6 separate regions of the Homo sapiens genome follow, and regions 1, 3, 4, 5 and 6 are each linked to region 2. Evidence: promoter capture Hi-C in 16 types of primary human blood cells and fetal thymus (Javierre and others, 2016). All regions are on one chromosome and are shown on one strand. Each heading gives the region's core, a stretch centred on a gene start or on the middle of the fragment in contact. The rest is flanking DNA. Distances are from core to core; before and after follow the strand shown. Region 1 overlaps ABCC2 (ATP binding cassette subfamily C member 2). Region 2 holds the start of DNMBP (dynamin binding protein). Region 3 overlaps ABCC2 (ATP binding cassette subfamily C member 2). Region 4 has its middle 56 kb from the start of DNMBP-AS1. Region 5 overlaps ABCC2 (ATP binding cassette subfamily C member 2). Region 6 has its middle 20 kb from the start of ABCC2.

The links. The method cuts DNA at HindIII sites, captures the fragments that hold promoters and counts their contacts. A CHiCAGO score of 5 or more calls a contact.
Region 1: a contact is called between a fragment that was not itself captured here and the fragment with the promoter of DNMBP in region 2, in 3 of 17 cell types (M1 macrophages, M2 macrophages and naive CD8 T cells). The highest score is 5.4, in M1 macrophages.
Region 3: a contact is called between a fragment that was not itself captured here and the fragment with the promoter of DNMBP in region 2, in 16 of 17 cell types (naive CD8 T cells, total CD8 T cells, activated CD4 T cells and 13 more). The highest score is 12.5, in naive CD8 T cells.
Region 4: a contact is called between a fragment that was not itself captured here and the fragment with the promoter of DNMBP in region 2, in 1 of 17 cell types (naive CD8 T cells). The highest score is 5.3, in naive CD8 T cells.
Region 5: a contact is called between a fragment that was not itself captured here and the fragment with the promoter of DNMBP in region 2, in 13 of 17 cell types (naive CD8 T cells, naive CD4 T cells, activated CD4 T cells and 10 more). The highest score is 8.6, in naive CD8 T cells.
Region 6: a contact is called between a fragment that was not itself captured here and the fragment with the promoter of DNMBP in region 2, in 1 of 17 cell types (monocytes). The highest score is 5.2, in monocytes.

Annotation. Positions count from the first base shown.
Region 1 is chr10:99,803,426-99,806,125 of GRCh38, reverse strand. It overlaps ABCC2 (ATP binding cassette subfamily C member 2), which reads right to left. Exons shown (of 32, transcript NM_000392.5): 10 at 1,853-2,107; 11 at 679-744. Among named protein-coding and RNA genes, the nearest start is that of ABCC2, 22 kb to the right of the region's middle. The HindIII fragment of the contact is 865 bases long and covers 959-1,823 here.
Region 2 is chr10:100,008,572-100,011,271 of GRCh38, reverse strand. It overlaps DNMBP (dynamin binding protein), which reads left to right and starts at 1,325. Exons shown (of 17, transcript NM_015221.4): 1 at 1,325-1,434. RefSeq lists a silencer at 1,033-1,552. The HindIII fragment of the contact is 18,497 bases long and covers 1-2,700 here.
Region 3 is chr10:99,847,920-99,850,619 of GRCh38, reverse strand. It overlaps ABCC2 (ATP binding cassette subfamily C member 2), which reads right to left. Exons shown (of 32, transcript NM_000392.5): 31 at 1-18. Among named protein-coding and RNA genes, the nearest start is that of ABCC2, 67 kb to the right of the region's middle. RefSeq lists a silencer at 234-528 and an enhancer at 74-754. The HindIII fragment of the contact is 1,166 bases long and covers 731-1,896 here.
Region 4 is chr10:99,870,071-99,872,770 of GRCh38, reverse strand. No RefSeq gene overlaps it. Among named protein-coding and RNA genes, the nearest start is that of DNMBP-AS1, 56 kb to the left of the region's middle. RefSeq lists an enhancer at 2,309-2,458. The HindIII fragment of the contact is 3,129 bases long and covers 1-2,700 here.
Region 5 is chr10:99,830,890-99,833,589 of GRCh38, reverse strand. ABCC2 (ATP binding cassette subfamily C member 2) reads right to left here. Exons shown (of 32, transcript NM_000392.5): 22 at 1,760-1,979; 23 at 1,459-1,613. Among named protein-coding and RNA genes, the nearest start is that of ABCC2, 50 kb to the right of the region's middle. RefSeq lists an enhancer at 2,400-2,700. The HindIII fragment of the contact is 3,144 bases long and covers 1-2,700 here.
Region 6 is chr10:99,761,282-99,763,981 of GRCh38, reverse strand. No RefSeq gene overlaps it. Among named protein-coding and RNA genes, the nearest start is that of ABCC2, 20 kb to the left of the region's middle. RefSeq lists a silencer at 2,583-2,700. The HindIII fragment of the contact is 6,331 bases long and covers 1-2,700 here.

The DNA.
Region 1 (2,700 bases), core at 142-2,641, 210 kb after region 2:
TGGAATGACCAAGACACACACACACACACACACACACACACACACACAGACAGAGAGAGAGAGACTGTAGTAGATTAAAATCACTATCAATTAAATATCATGCATGGACATTTTTTGGGTCCTTATTCAATCTAACCAACAGCAAAACAAACAAAAGGCACATATGAGGCAACTGGAGAACTTTGATGGTATCAAAGAATGTTAATTTTTTTTGTAGGTATGATACTGGTATTGTGGCTATATTTTTAAAATAAATCCTTCTTTTAGAGCTACATACACAGCATTTATGAATGAAATGACAAGATCTCTGAGATTTGCTTTAAAATAATCTAGCAAGTGTGAGGGGTGTGGGTTTATAGATGAAACTAGTTAGGTCATGCTGATAATTCCTGGAGCTGGGTGAAAAGTTTGTAGGGGTTCATGATAGTCTCTACTTTTCTACATGTTTAAACACTTCTACAGTAAAGTGTCAAAACAAAACAAGCTATTTAGGGTGAATAAATAGAAATTGGGGTTCAACGGAGGACCTGAGAGGGACAGGAGGACATGAAACAAAAGTCATGTGACACAACCGGCCCAGAAGCAGGAATCCATCACCTCTACCAGGGTTTGCAAAGGCCAAGAGAGCCACTGCTTCTGTCCTTACCCACAGAGAGCCACCTACGCTCAGATTCTCACCTTGATTCCACTAAGAATCTCATTCATGATCTTTAAACGTTTGTCTTTATTCTTCATATTTTTGACCTGCCAGGAAAAAAGCAAAAGAAAAACAATATACGCTTCCATGAGAGAGGGCTCAGGTTTGCTGCAGACATCAGGCCTCACTGCTACTTTGTGGCTGTCACTTAGTAAGAACTTGAGGTGCCCAGTGATGGGATTCACCTCCCTCCACTCTCCTCTTTGCCCACTCTGCTCCTGCCGCACCCATCTTCTTTCTGATCCTTGCTTGTTCCAAGCTTGTTTCTGTCCCATAGCCCTTGCCTGACTGTACCCACCTCCCAGGCTGTTCTTTCCCTGCCCTTCCCAAGGCTTTCTCCTTTACAGTCAGGCTTGTATCATTCAGAGTTCAGCTTAAATGTCCACTCCCCAAGAGGCCTTCCCTGAACTCATTGAAAATAACCACCCACTCACTCACTATCTCATCACCCTGTTGAATTCTCTGTATAATACTTATCATGATCTGATATTTTTCTTCTTTGTGTATTGCCTGTCTCTCCACCACCCTACCAGGTAGAATGTAAGATCCATGAGAACAGGAGCCCTAACTCACTGCTGTGTTCTCAGAGAAGTAAGATATGTAAGAAATATTTTCAAAACAATTATTTGTAACTTGAATGCAAAACAAATGAGTGAATAAATCATATACACTGTCAAGTCCACCCACCCAACCTGTGACTTCTGGCAGGACTGAGGACACTGTCCACACGGAGCCCTCCCACCTGGTGGTAGCGGGGTGATTGCCAAGGCTCAGGCTGAAATTTGGATCACTCATGCGACTGCTCTCTGTGGTTGGTTTAGATTGCCATAATGGAGAAGCAGGGCCCCAAATCCCTGTTCTTAGGGCAGCCCAGCAGAGCAAGATGGAAGAATTATGTGCAGCATCTCTGGGGTAGCCCTTCCTTCCCCAGTCAGGCTCTTCCCTCTAACATGAATGCAGAGGAGTATATATAAACCCTAAGAGTCATCAGAAGATGAAAAGGGAACTCAGAGACAGCTAAGTACAATTGAGATGGTAGAAAGTCTTCCACCAGCTTTGCCTTGCCCAAACTCCCATTAAGAATTAGAGTAGAGTAAGAAAAAGGGTTTACACTTTAAAGAAAGCTTATATTCTTCTGGGTGACTTTTTCTTTACCTGAATGGTCTTACTCTTGGTGGACAGTATCGCATTAATTGGGATTACAAGCACCATCACCCCAACACCTGCTAAGACTGAGGGTCCCAACTCTCTCCATAGGAAGAAGATAGATAAGACAATCTGTAGAACACTTGACCACAGCATGTGCATGAAGTTGGTCACATCCATGAGCTTCTGGGCATCCACAGACATCAGGTTCACTGTTTCTCCAACGGTGTACTCCTTCCTGGCCAAGTTGGATAGGGTCAATGCCTAAAGATAAGGATTGAAATTAGGACCCATGGACAAAGCCAAGGATACTAGGGAGTAGAAGAGGAAGCTCAGGAAGTGAGATTACAATGGAAGGATGTGCTCCATATGGACACAGCTTCTCCAAGGCACTGTGACTTCTTGCCTCCAAATCTTACACATGGTATTCTCTCATTCTTGACCACTCTTTCCTCTTATTCCCACCTTCCTCCAACTCTACCCATCCACACACTTCTTTGCCCAGAAAACTCCTATTTATCCTTTGGTGTCAGCTGAGATGTAACTTCTTATAAGAAAACCACCGTGACTACCAAGTTGGGGTTAGATATTCGTCCTGTGTACTCTCATAATATCCTGAGCTTACCTTTGTCATTACATTCATCACAATGAACCATAATTACTTTGTTTTTTTCTGTTTCTCCACTAGATGTAAACTCTGTGAGGATGAGGGCAACATCTGTCTATTTCACTACTATATTATGTGGCACATAGTAGAGAATCAAATACTGAGGGATGGAAGAAAAGGAGGGATGGATGGATGGAAGGAGAGAGGGAGGAAGGGAAGGAGGAAAGGGAGAAGGGAAGGAGGGAACCAG
Region 2 (2,700 bases), core at 76-2,575:
TGGATATATACCCAAAAGAATTGAAAGTAGGGACTCAGATATTTGTACACCCATGTTCATTGCAGCATTATTCACCATAGCCTAAAGGTACAAACAACCCAAATGTCCACAGAAAGATGGGATAAACCAAAGATGTTATATACGTACAATTGAGTATTATTCAGCCTTCAAAAGGAAGGATATTCTAACGCATGCTACAACATGGGTGAGCCTTGAAGACATTATGCTAGGTGAAAGAAGCCACTCACAAAAGGACAATATTGTATGATCCCACTTATATGAGGTATCCAGAGTAATCATAGAGACAGAAAGTAGAATGATGGTTACCAGGGGCTGGAGAATGAGGAGTTAGTGTTTAATGGGTACAGTTTCAGTTTGGGAAGATGAAAAAGTTCTGGAGCTGGATGGTGGTGATGGTTGCAGAACAATGTCAATGTACTTAATGCCACTGAACTGTACACTTAAAAAGGATTAAAATGGTAAATTTCATGTGATATATATTTAACCACAAGTTTTTAAAAAGCAAAGGGAAGGAGAAACATATACAGCATGGGATGAGATTTGTGAAATATTTATTTTTGTTGTGCATGCACAGTCATAGACTCGCCGCCTTCTTCAGAATCCTCTAGGTAGATTCCAGAAACGTGAGGCGCAGCAATTCCAGCAACATAGCCAAGCTGTGTAACTTCGTGGTCTTTAAACAAACAACGGGAATACTGCGGGGATTCAGAAACTGAGTCGGAGGAGGAGTTCTGACAGCCCTGCCCAGTTCTTGCTTCTGTCATTTCTTGCTCTCAAATTCTCAAAGATGTCCTGAGAGACTTTCCTCAGAAAAAAATGGGACAGATAGAGGCGAACCCCAGCGAGTATTGTGTGGCATAATAAGGGAAACTGCCTCGGGGTAGCAAAGAGGACAGCATCACACGCAGACAGGAATCGACTTGGACTTCTCTGAATGGAATTTTGACTTTTTTCTAGGTTGGAGGGTGGTGTCGGGAGTGGGGGAACAGCAAGAGTGGAGGAACTTGTCCGCAGCCGGGGCTGCACGTAGGACTGCGTGAGGCCGAGGCCCGACGAGCCGTGTCGGCGCGCTGCGGCGGGGGCGGGCCCCCGTGCCTCAGTTTCCCCGGTGGCCGTTCTGGGAGCGACGCCCCTCTGACGTCGCGAGGCGAGCAGGGCCGGGCCGGCCGCCAGGGGGCGCGAGCGCGGGGCGGGCGCCGGAGAGGTGGGCGCGCGGGCAGCGGAGCTTGGCGCCCCCGGGGCCGCGCGGACCGCGCCGGCAGAGGCGGAAGCCTGAGCGGGAGGCGGGGCGGCGCGCTGACTCACACGGGATCGACCCGCCCGCCGCTTCCAGGGGCGGAGGTGACAGCGGGCTGGGGACTGGCGGCTGCAACTGCCTGCCGCGCCGAGGGACCGCCGGGCGGCGGAAAGCAGGTCAGAGGCCGGGCCAGGCCGGAGCCGGGCGGGGGCCGGGCGGGGAGCGGGGGTCGCGGTCCGGGGCCGCGGGCGGAGGGGACCCGCACCCCGAGAGACGCGCCGCGCCGCGCCGCGCGGCTAGGCCTGTATCGGCCCTTTCCCAGCGGCGGCGCTGTGCTGCGCTCTGTGGGCCAGGAGCCCGCGAGGGACAGTGGGGCGCAGCGGGCCCCCTCGCACTCCTGTAGTCCCCGGGAGTTGGAGGGGTGGTCAGAGCAATGCGAACGTGGGCTTTTCAAGCGGTGTCAAGCCCAGGGCTCTTTCTCTGCACCGCCCTGCCACTCCGGCAATGAGGCGGAATTTTGAGAGCTGGAAAAAGAATTCTGCGTTAGTCCACCCCGCTGATTTTACAGATGTTCGGAGCCTTACGGCATAGGAGGCCGTGATTCTGTGTCAGGGAGACAGGGACAGATGGCTTCCGAAGCAAGGGTTAGACCTGTTCAGCTGGAGATGCAGCTTTGGTCATGGTGGAGTTTTGCAGAAACCCGCGGACACCCGCGTTCCTGCTGCAGGCACAGATGTCCACCGGGCATCTGTGTCTCAAAGGGTGGTGATGCTGTCACTTTAGTAAAGGAATATTGAGGTTACCAAACAGGCCGGGGCCTGATGCAGATGAGGAGTATAGACTTAAATTTTAAGTGCAAAAACAACTTTAAATGCAGTCTCATTATTACTGCCTGTCTCATTTGTACTGTAATGAAGGGTGAATATTTTTGGCACTCACTTATTCTGGAATATGGGTAACTTGCCTTTAGGTCTGTTTTATAGTAATTCTTTTACACAAACATGAAGATCTTGTATTAAAACACTTTCATAACTAATGATGCTGTAGTATGTGGCAGGCGAGTGGTAACGCTAATATTTAGGGTTTGAGCATAGTCTAGCTCTGCTTGTTTACATAGCTGAGTTAAACGGATGAGCAGGACTGATTAATCTGTAGTAGTTTTTGCAAGACTGAAGTACCTGACAGCATTCGGGGATCATTTCTCAGTTGGTGTTCCGTTTATTACTTTCACAGCATGAATACCGACACGGTGATCAGCAAGTTAGTTTATCCTCTACCCATTTTTCTCTAAAATATTGAATTAAAGGATCTCTAAGGTCCTCTTCTGTCTCGAGTTCTCCGATTTTACATGTTAACTTGAAACACGTCACTCATTGTGATAATAAAAATGTTTTAAGAAGAAAAGATTTTTAGAATTCTGCATAATGGGGCATAGCGAATCT
Region 3 (2,700 bases), core at 64-2,563, 160 kb after region 2:
AGCTGCCTCTGGCCTATGCTGCAGCCAATAGAAGCAACCATGTGTTAGCTCCTAAAGACCAAGGAAAGACGCAGGGCAGGGGGACCATTTTCATGTTCCAGATCAGACTTTCAAAACCCCCCCTCCAAAATTCCCCTGGAATGTTTGGGCCTCTTCAACTAGCTGTACCTTGCTGCTGTGAGCATCGTTTTTCAAACTTTCCCAATTGAAGACCCACCCCAAGTACTTAATTAAAAAGTCATATTTCTGGGCCCTTGCTTTGCTCAATCAGAGCGGGCAGGAGCCTAGGAAGGTGCCTTTTTACTAAGCACCCCAGGCCATTTTTATGCTTAAACAAGTTTGGATAACAATGGCCCAGGAACCATGCTTTGTATTTGGTTGCCGTGACATCAACATTTCCAAAACAACATGAGTGTCACCAAGTTTACGTTAGCAGCATTTGACCTGAAGCCATTAATATAGGGTGGAGCAACACTAGAATGCCCCAGTGGCATTTCTTTGTGGCCTTAGCAAATCAATTTATTATTTTAATGTGTAATTCTAGCCTCAAGGCTAATTATTTGTTCAAGGCCTTCTGCTTTGATTAGAGATGAAGCTGTCTAATGAACGTGATGTCTTGGTGTGAGATGCAATGTATGTGGAATTCAAATATGCTTCTAAAATGCAAATAGCTTTAATTTGCTAAAAGCCTGTAATGAAGGCTGGACCTCTTACCTAACATAAAGAAGCTTTGGGAAATGATGTGAAGGAAATATTCAGGAATTTGCTAATTGCTCTTTCCTGCTGTGGCCATTAGGGAACATATTAAACAGGGGGTGGCCAAAGTGCTGTAATTCTCTGTAAGAAAATTTCTGCAGGAGATGAGAAGTCACCCAAGATGAACTTCCAGTTTTCCCCTGTAATGTAAGATCAGAGACACTGAAAAACTATTTACTTAGCTTGTACCAAACTCCTGCCTGGCCCAAAGTGTAACGTAGACTTTGGACTTTAGAGTAACAGACTGTTGCTGAGGCGCCACTTTGTCTTTCAGCTGCTCTCTCCAAGCTGAACTTACCCATCATTCAACAGAGAAATGTAAGTTTTAGTCCCCCAGGCCAGGTTTGAAACTCAGGTCTGAAATCAAGGCATTGGTAATACCATTTAAGCATCTCTCAGCTTGGACAGGAGAAAGATGGCATGATTTTTGTTTTTACAAACCAGAAATGTCAAGGCCTCCCATTGTACCCTACCATAGCATCCCAAATGTACCCTCTGTAGCACAGACTGTACTGGCATTTACTGACAGAGGTCTGTCTTCATTATGCTGTAAATGCTAGGAAGTCAGGGTTGTGTCTCTGTTTGCCTCTGTATTTTCAGTACCTGGCACACAGTAGGTGTACATATATTTTCGAGACGGAGTTTCGCTCTTGTCTCCCAGGCTGGAGTGCAATGGCGCAATCTCAGCTCACCACAACCTCCGCCACCCGGGTTCAAGCGATTCTCCTGCCTCAGCCTCCTGAGGGATTACTGCTGGGATTACAGGCCTGTGCCACCATGCCCCACTAATTTTGTATGTTTAGTAGAGATGGGGTGTCTCCACGTTGGTCAGGCTGGTCTCGAGCTCCCGACCTCAGGTGATCCGGCTGCCTCGGCCTCCCAAAGTGCTGGGATTACAGGCATGAGCCACTGCGCCCGGCCGGTGTTATTACATTTTTGCTGACTGAATGTTTGAATGATCTTTTACACTGGCCTAAAGACCTACTTGAGTCCTGCTAGTTGCTAGATCTGTTGTGGAGGGAAAGTAAACTGACGATGTTCTCTACCAGGGCTTGTTCCCTGGGGCTACACACTAAAATCACCTGGGTCCCCGATTCAGTTGGTCTGGGCTACAGTTTAGGCGTTGGGAGCTTTAAAGCTTCCTGGGTGATTTTAGCTTGCAGCCTAGTTAATCACAACACTCTAGGCAGTGCTTCTCAAGTGTAATGTGCACACAAATCACCTGGGAATCTTGCTAAAGTGCGGATTCTGATGAGTAGGTCTACGCCCTGAGATTCTGCACATGTAACAAGCTCCCAGGTGAAGCCAGAGTGGCTGGCCCCTGAATCAGTTACTGAGCCCTCCCTTCCTTCCTGAGCTTCAACTTGCCAACGGCCTATTCCCTGCCTACCACCACTGAGGCCCCTGGGGCAGGAGCAAGACCTGTCCATGAGCAGTGGGCTTTGGCTGAGGGCAGAACTTCAGTGTGTGGAAGGAAAAACAAAAATGTTACAGGAAAAATGCCAGATCAACTTATTAATGGACAGGCAAACATACACTGAAGGCCAGAAGTGAACTGTCAATTATATAAAAATGTTTTGGAAAGGTTAAAAATAACTGTGAAAGCCAAGAGAGTCTTTTGTTGATTTCAGGTGTTTCAACAGTGCCTACGGATTTTACAGATGTCACGTTCCCTGTCATCCGCATGCTCTTTAGATCAGTGGTTCTTTAACTGCGATGCCCTTAACAGCCTCGTGGGGATCCTTTAAAACTCCCTATGTCCAGTCTAGCCTCAAACAATTAAATCAGACTCTAGGATTGGACCAGGCAGCCAGACTATTTTCATCCTGATTGTGCACAGCTGGGAGCCTCTGCTTTCTGTGGGATGTGTAAGCTCACATTGTGTAATGTCATATGAGGAGTACACTTAATAACAAAGGTTTTTTGTTTGTTTGTTTGTTTGTT
Region 4 (2,700 bases), core at 115-2,614, 140 kb after region 2:
CACTCCAGCCTGGACAGCAGAGTGAGACCGTCTCAAAAACAGAATGACTCATGCTCAGAGGATAAGAAACTCAACCAGGTTTACCCAGATAGAAATAGTAAGACTCAGATTTCAATCCCAGCCCTGAGAGCAAAGCTCATGTATTTAACCCTTTGCTATATACCCACTTGAGAACACACCAGCTCATGTGTACAACCAAAAGGACTTTGGCCCTAAGCCATTGAATGGCCCTTCCTAGTCAGTTCTGTGGGAGCCTTCATCAAAAGAGGACACTGGCCCTTTAAAGGAAGGATTGAATAGCAGTAAGAGTCTAAGCCAGTCTCCATTGCTTTAGGTCAATGTGGAAACAACACATAACCTTCAACTCTCCTCCAGGGCCTGGTCTACATAGAGCTGTCTGGAGTCCTGCCCTGGCTGCCTCTGTTCCTGAACCTTTGGATTTCTTGGAATTCTAATCCTCTAAATCCAGTCTTTTGACTGAACCATTTGGAAATTGAGGCCTGCATGGCAGTAGGGAGTACCCTCACCCCCAGAGGTAACAACTCTTTAGGAAATTTCCAAAATACACCTAGTACCAGTAAATAACCTGCCTGGTTCCCTAATCTTTCCTTCACCATGTAGAGGCTTCTGGATAATTTTGGTCCTCAGTTCACTATTGGGAGTCTTCTATAGCATCTGCTCCAAGTTAAGAAGATTCGCACACTGATCCTAAAATTCATATGGAAACGCAAGGGACCCAGAGTAGCCAAAACAATCTTGAAAAAAGGAACAAGATATAAAACTACAATAAGTAAGACTATGTGAGACTGACATAAGATAGACATAGATTGAGGGTCTAAAACTTTGGCCAGGCACAGCAGGTCACACCTATAACCCCAACACTTTGTGAGGCTGAGGTAGAAGGATTGCTTGAGCCCAGAATTCGAGACCAACCTAGGCAACATGGTGAAATTCCATTTCTACAAAAATACAAAACTTAGTTGGGCATGGTGGTGCACACCTGTAATTCCAGCTACTTGAGAGGCGAAGTAGGAAGATTATTTGAGCCTGGGAGGTTGGGGCTGCAGTGAACAGTGAACATGCTACTGCACTCCAGCCTGGTGACAGCGTGAGACCTCGTCTCAAAAAACATAAAAATAAACCTTTACATGTATTGTCAAATATGAATTGACCAAGGTGTCAGAACAACTTAATGGGGAAACAACCATCTTTTGCACAGATGGTGCCAGGACAACTGGATATCCACATGCAGGAGAATGAAGTTAGACCGCTTCCTAAACCACACACGAAAATTCACTCCAAATGGAGCATAGACCTAAATGTAAGAGTTAGAACTACACAATTCTTAAAATGGGAAAAAGTTCTCACAACCTTGGATTAGGCTTTAGTTTCTTCAAATGACAACAAAAGTGACCAAAAAAAAAAAAAAACCAGATAAATTAGACCTCATCAAAATGGAAAACTTTTGTGCTTATAATGCCATTGGCCAGGCATGATGGCTCACACCTATAACCGCAGCACCTTGGGAGGCCAAGGCAGGATTTCTTGAGCCCAGGAATCTGAGACCAGCCTGGGCAACACAGGTAGAACTCGTCTCTACAAAAAATTTTTTTCAATTAGCCAGGCATGGTGGTGTAGTCCCAGCTACTTGGGAAGCTGAGGTGGGAGGATTGCTTGAGCCCAGGACGTAGCAACTGCAGTGAGCCATGATTGTGCCACTGCACTCCAGCCTGGGTGACAGAGCAAGACCCCATCTAAAAACAACCAAACAAAACAAGAAACACACTATCAAAGTGAAAAGACAACCCACAGAATAAGAAAAATATATTTCAACTCATACGTCTGATAAGAGAATTGTATCCGGAATATATAAAGAAGTCTTATAACTCATTGAAAAGAAAATAAACACCCAATTTAAAATTGGGCAAAGGGACCAGGCCTGTTAGCTCACACCTATAATCCCAGCACTGCGTGAGGCTGAGGTGGGAGGACTGCTTTAGCCCAGGAGTTCAAGACCAGCCTGGGCAACATAGAGAGAACCCACCTCTGCCAAAAATAATAATAATTAGCTGGGAGTGGTGGTGCCTGCCTGTCTGTGGTCCCAGCTACTTGGGAGGCTGAGGTGGGAGGCTTCTGGCTTGAGCCCAGGAGGCTGACGCTGCAGTGAGCTATAATTGAGCTACTATACTCCAGTCTGAGTAAGAGTGAGACCTTGTCTTAAAAGAAAAAAAAAAAAAAGCTCAATATCACTAACCAGATAAATGCAAATTGAAACCACAATGAGATATCATCTCACCACAGTTAAAATGGCTTTTATAAAAAAAGACAAGAAAGAGGGGAGGGGCCAAGATAGAATAGGAAGAGCTCTGGTCTGCAGCTCCCAGTGAGACCAATGCAGAAGGCGGGCGATTTCTGCATTTACAACTGAGATACCCAGTTCATCTCACGGGGGTTAGGCTGTGGGTACAACCCATGGAGGGTGAGCAGAAGCAGAGTGGGGCGTCGCTTCACCCCAGAAACTCAAGGAGCCAGGGGACCTCCCTCCCCCAGCCAAGGGAAGCCGTGAGGGACTGTGCTACCCAGCCCGGATACTACCCTTTTCCCTTGGTTTTTGTAATCTGCAGATCAGGAGATTCCCTCATGTGATAACACCATCAGGGCCCTAGGTTTCAAACACAAAACTGGGTGGGTGTTTGGGCA
Region 5 (2,700 bases), core at 69-2,568, 180 kb after region 2:
GTTCTATGCAGATTACTTTTGATCCTTACCTGGCACAGAGTCTCCATCTTTCCTTCCTCCACTCCATCTCCTCTTAACTCAGCCATTGATCCCAGAGGCCCCTTGATCAAACTCCCCTTAATAGGTCTGAGCCACCTCCCCAACGAAACATACTATATAATTAATGACAGTTTCCTTTCTCATGCAAAAGCAGTCTTCAAACTATGACTGTTGCCTAAGTAACTCACAGAAAACCTCTGTGTTCTCTTTCCCAGAAGATTATATATATTACAACATGGGGAAAACTGTGATCTTTACAAAATTACTATGAGAAATTTCTCACCCAAAATTGAGTGTTCTTTTAGGTTCTAGTAAAGAGCAGAAAGGCCATTGAAGTTGTCTCTAGTGACATCATGCCCACTGTTTCTGCCCCAGAGGAAGATGACACAGGGGGACCAGTTAATGGCCCACTTTTGAAGCAGTTACTGTGTCCCCAGAACCTGGCTGTGGACTGTGAGCTATACTTTCTATGTCTGCCCCAAGACCAACAAACAAGAGTCCAGAGCTGCTCCATAAGCACAGGGCTAAAAACTGTGCTGGTGATAGTTACTTATCATTCAGAATTGCCTGATCTCTGCCTCTGTTCCTGAATTCCCATCTCAGATACACTAAAAAATCAGTGAGTTGGGTCTGGCCCATGGAAGAGAGACATCTATGATCTTCACATTCATTGAGTGCCCCAGTGTCTAGTACAGTAGTTGGCTCATAGAAAGTGCTCAATAACGGTTGTTGAATGAATGAATGAGTGAATGCCAAGGGGTCCAGGATCTGTGGTAGATGGAAACAATATTTGAGAACTTTTTAAAATCACTGATGGCTCTATTCCATAGTCCAGACCAAATTTACTCATTCTTAAAGCATTCAAGATAGAAGTTTCAGGAATGGAGGCAGAGGCCAAGCAAAGGGTTATCCTACTATCTCTTGTATTTCCTGTCCCAGGCTGTGACAGTGCTTTTATTTATGTTCCTTCCTCTGCAGAATAATCCTTCTCACCCTGCTCTACTGCCATCCCCCAACCCTTGCCATCTCCCTGGCTTGCTTCTATGACTTAAGTTTCACCTTTTCTGACATTTCCCACCTTTATCACGCAGGCTGGGCTAGTGCCTTTTTTTCCTTTGTACTCCCAGACCACCTTTCTACACACTGCTGTTACTGGTTTTACTATATTCTATTATAATCCTTCACTTCTTTGGTTGTCTTCTTCACTAGATGCTGAGCTACTTGAAGGGTCAGAGATGTTCATCCCTCAATCTCCAGGATTCTTGGGAGCTCACAGCAGGTACTCAAGAAACACTTGCATGTTGAGTGACAAAAGAACTGGAACTGAACAGTGTTGTCTAGGGGGACATAATAATTCCTCCCTATCAGAAAGATCCTCAGTATATAAACACACCACCTGACAGTTCTTGAGATACTTACGCCGGCAAACCTGTTCACAATCCGGCCTGTGGGTGTTGTGTCAAAAAATCTCATAGGTGCTCGAAGGATATTGTTCAGCAGTTGCTTGTGCAAGATATTTGATGCATGGACGAAACCAAAGGCACTCCAGAAATGTGCTATGAACACAAATATACCTAGAGATGGAAGCAGTTTTGTCAGCACCATGCACAGGAATCCCTGAAGACTTGTGCCCAGGACATAATGGCAAATGCATTCCTGAGTCCAGGAAAAGTACAGGGTCCAGACAGATTCTGTAAGATGTCATAGCCATCAGACATACCTTGGGCTAATCCCAGAGCTCCGTAGACTCCAACTCTCATGTCCCTCTGAGATGCTGGATAGTCGGTGCTATTGAAGATTTTAGAGTCACTGGTCCAAGCACTGAGCCAGAGGTTGGATCCAATAAAAGCCACAGAATTCATCACAAACGCAAGGATGATGAAGAATATCGAAAACAATCCTATTGCTTGTAGGTACTCCAGGTAGATGGAGAACTTCACCTGCAAAGTCCCCACCTCAATATTAGTAGAACTCCCTAATGGCTTTTGATAAGGAATCACCTAGAATGCCAACCACAAGGAGAAGTGGAGTCCCCTGGGAGCATGGGTAGCAGGTAGCAAAATTTGGTAGTCTGTGGTCACCATTTCTGCACTGTGCCAGGAAGGATAATAGAACAATGCTGAAATACAATGCAGGGTAAATAATCATCAAAGCTAAAGGCATTTAAGAGGAGAAGATATAAAAACAGATTGGGACAAGCCAGACATGATAGCATGCCCCTGTAGTCCCAGCTACTCAGAAGGCTGGTGTGGGAGGATCTCTTGAGCCCTGAGGTTTTAGTCCAGCCTGGGCAACATAGTGAGACCCTGTATCTAAAATAAACACACAAACAAAAAATCAGAGTGGAACAGATGATGGGGTTCTACTGCCGACCTTGAAATTTGTGGTTAAATTTCATTAATTTGAATTATGTGCTCTAGGTCTGAGTTTTCCTGTTCCTCCACACATCAGAATGGAATCAAACACTCATGAAGTGTAGGATGAGGACATTCACAGGAAACATAGCATTCTTTATGGAAATATGACTTGGTAGAAAGCCCACAGCCTCTGCTAACAGGTTAATAATGAGTCTGAAGATTTGCAAAGGACAGAGGACATATTGCTCCTGTAAGTATGCGTTCAATTTTCACTGAACGTTAAAAATTTTGGGTTCTAAACCTT
Region 6 (2,700 bases), core at 94-2,593, 250 kb after region 2:
GAAGGCTTTGCCTAACCCAAAGGTCACAAAGATTTACCCGTTTTCTTCTAAAAGGTTTTTTAGTTCTTAAATTTAGGTTATGACCCTTTGAGTTAATTTTTGCATTTGGTGTAAGGTAAGGGTCCAACTTTATTCTTTTGCATGTGGATATCCAGTTGTCTAAGCATCATTTGTTAAAAAGACCATTCTTTCCCCCACTGAATTGTCTTGGAATCCTAGTCAAAAATCAATGGACTATAATGTAAGTGCTTATTTCTGGACTTTCAATTGTATCCTATTGAGCTATATAATTATCTTTATGCCAGTACTACATGGCCTTGATTACCATAGCTTTGTAGTAAGTTTTGAAATCAGGAAGTATGTCATCAAATGTTGTTCTTCTTTTTCAAGATTTTCTGGCTATCCTGGGGCATTTGCGTTTCCAGATGGATTTTAGGATCAATTTGTCAACTTTTACACAAAAAGGCAGTTGGAATTCTGCTAGCAATTACATTGACTCCGTAGATCAATTGAAGAGTGTTGGAATCTTAAAAGTAGTAAGTTTACCAATCTATGAACATGGGATGTCTTTCCATTTATTTCTTCATTGTTAAGTCTTTTAAAATTTCTTTCAACAATGTTTTGTAGTTTTCAGTATACTGTCTTACACTTTTTTTTTTTTTTTTTGAGACTGAGCCTTGCTCTGTTGCCTGGGCTGGAGTGCAGTGGTGCGATCTTGGCTCACTGCAACCTCTGCCTCCCAGGTTCAAGTGATTCTCTTTTCTTAGCCTCCCAAGTAGCTGGGATTACAGGTGCCCACCACCACACCTGGCTAATTTTTGTATTTTTAATACAGACAGAGTTTCACCATGTTGGCCAGACTGGTCTGGAACTCCTGACCTCACATCATCCACCCGTCGCGGCCTCCCAGAGTGCTGGGGTTACAGGTGTGAGCCACTGCATCTGGCCTGTCTTACGCTTCTTTGATTACATTTATTCCTAAGCATTTTATCTTTTTGATGCTATTATAAACTGAACTTTTATTAACTGCATTTTAGGATTGTTTGTTGCTAGTGTAAAGCAATACAATTTATTTCATATACTGATCTTTCCGAGAGTAGGAAAACTCAAAGTGTTTTTTCTATTCTCACAACAATCAACACAGAGGACTTTTATGACCAAATGTGGGGAGTGAGGGTCTCCCTGACACACACCAAGCAAGCAATCACTTCTGCAGCAGACACCAGCTCGGTGTACTCTAATTCAATCTCAACATTATCTACCTGAAGATAGCATCAGATCCCACAGGTTGAGGGCTCAGTCCCCAAGACTGTCCCCCAACTTCCCACTCCTCACCAGCCAACTTCCAACATCAATTGCAAGCCCCAGATTATTTTGCCTGTGCTTGTCACCGACCAACTATAAATCTGAATTCCCACAACCCCCTCCTCAGGTTTGATTGATTTGTTGGAGTAGCTAACGGAACTCAGGGAAACATGTTTAATACAATAAACATGTTTATTATAGTTTTTTTTTTTTTTTTTTTTTTGATACAGAGTCACTCCATCACCCAGGCTGGAGTGCAATGGCGCGATCTCAGCTTTCTGCAACCTCCACCTCCCAGGTTCAAACTATTCTCCTATCTCAGCCTCCTGAGTGGCTGTGATTATAGGTGCGTGCCACCACACTTGGCTAATTTTTTTTACTTTTTAAATTTTTACTAGAGACGGGGTTTTGCCATGTTAGCCAGGCTGGTCTTGAACTCCTGATCTCAAGTGATCCACCCGCCTTGGCCTCCCAAAGTGCTGGGATTGCAGGCATGAGCCACCATGCCCAGCCTACAGGGGCTTTTTTTTTTCTTTTCAACTTGTACTCTTCAGGGGATACATGTGCAGATTTGTTACAAAGATATATTGCAAGACGCTGAGGTTTGGAGTATCACTAAACCCATCACCCAGGTAGTTGGCATAGTACCCAATAGGTAGTTTTTCAGCCCTTCCCTCTTTCCTTCTCTCCCCACTCTAGTAGTCCTCAGTGTCTATTGCTCCCGTCTTTGTCCATATGTAGCCAATGTTTCGCTCCCACTTATAAGTGAGAACATGGGGTATTTGGTTTTCTGTCTGCATCAGTTTGCCACAAAAAAATGCCACAAAACACATTTATCAGTAAGGAAAAAATGCCACAAAACACATTAGTAAGGAAGAGAATCGAGCATCAAGATTTAAGGCAGAAAGGGAAAAGCTAACTCTACTGTTTTGTGCAAATGCAGTCAGGTTTATTATTAGGACAGCCCTTGTCTATATAGCAGCTAACCCCTGAGCCTTCAAAGGAAAAGATAAACACCAGCTGCCAGTCTTTTGACTGTACAAGAGGGCCTGGACAATCAGAACCCTTTTTCTGGATTGGTCCAATCAATGATGTTGTGGTTAGGATATACTGGCACCAGGCTTCTTGTACAGGCTGCAGAACTGTGAGCCAAATAAAATTTCTTTTCAAGTTACAAAGCCTCAGGCATTTATAGCAACACAAATGAACTAAGGAAGACAACTGGTACCAAGGAGAGGGTGGTTGCTATAAAGATACTTGAAAATGTGGAAGTGGCTTTGGAACTGGGTAATGGGCAAAAGTTGGAAGAGTTTAGAAGGCTCAGAAGAAAACAGGAAGATAAGGGAAAGTTTGGGATTTATTAGACTGTGTGAGCGGTTGTGGCCAAAGTGCTGA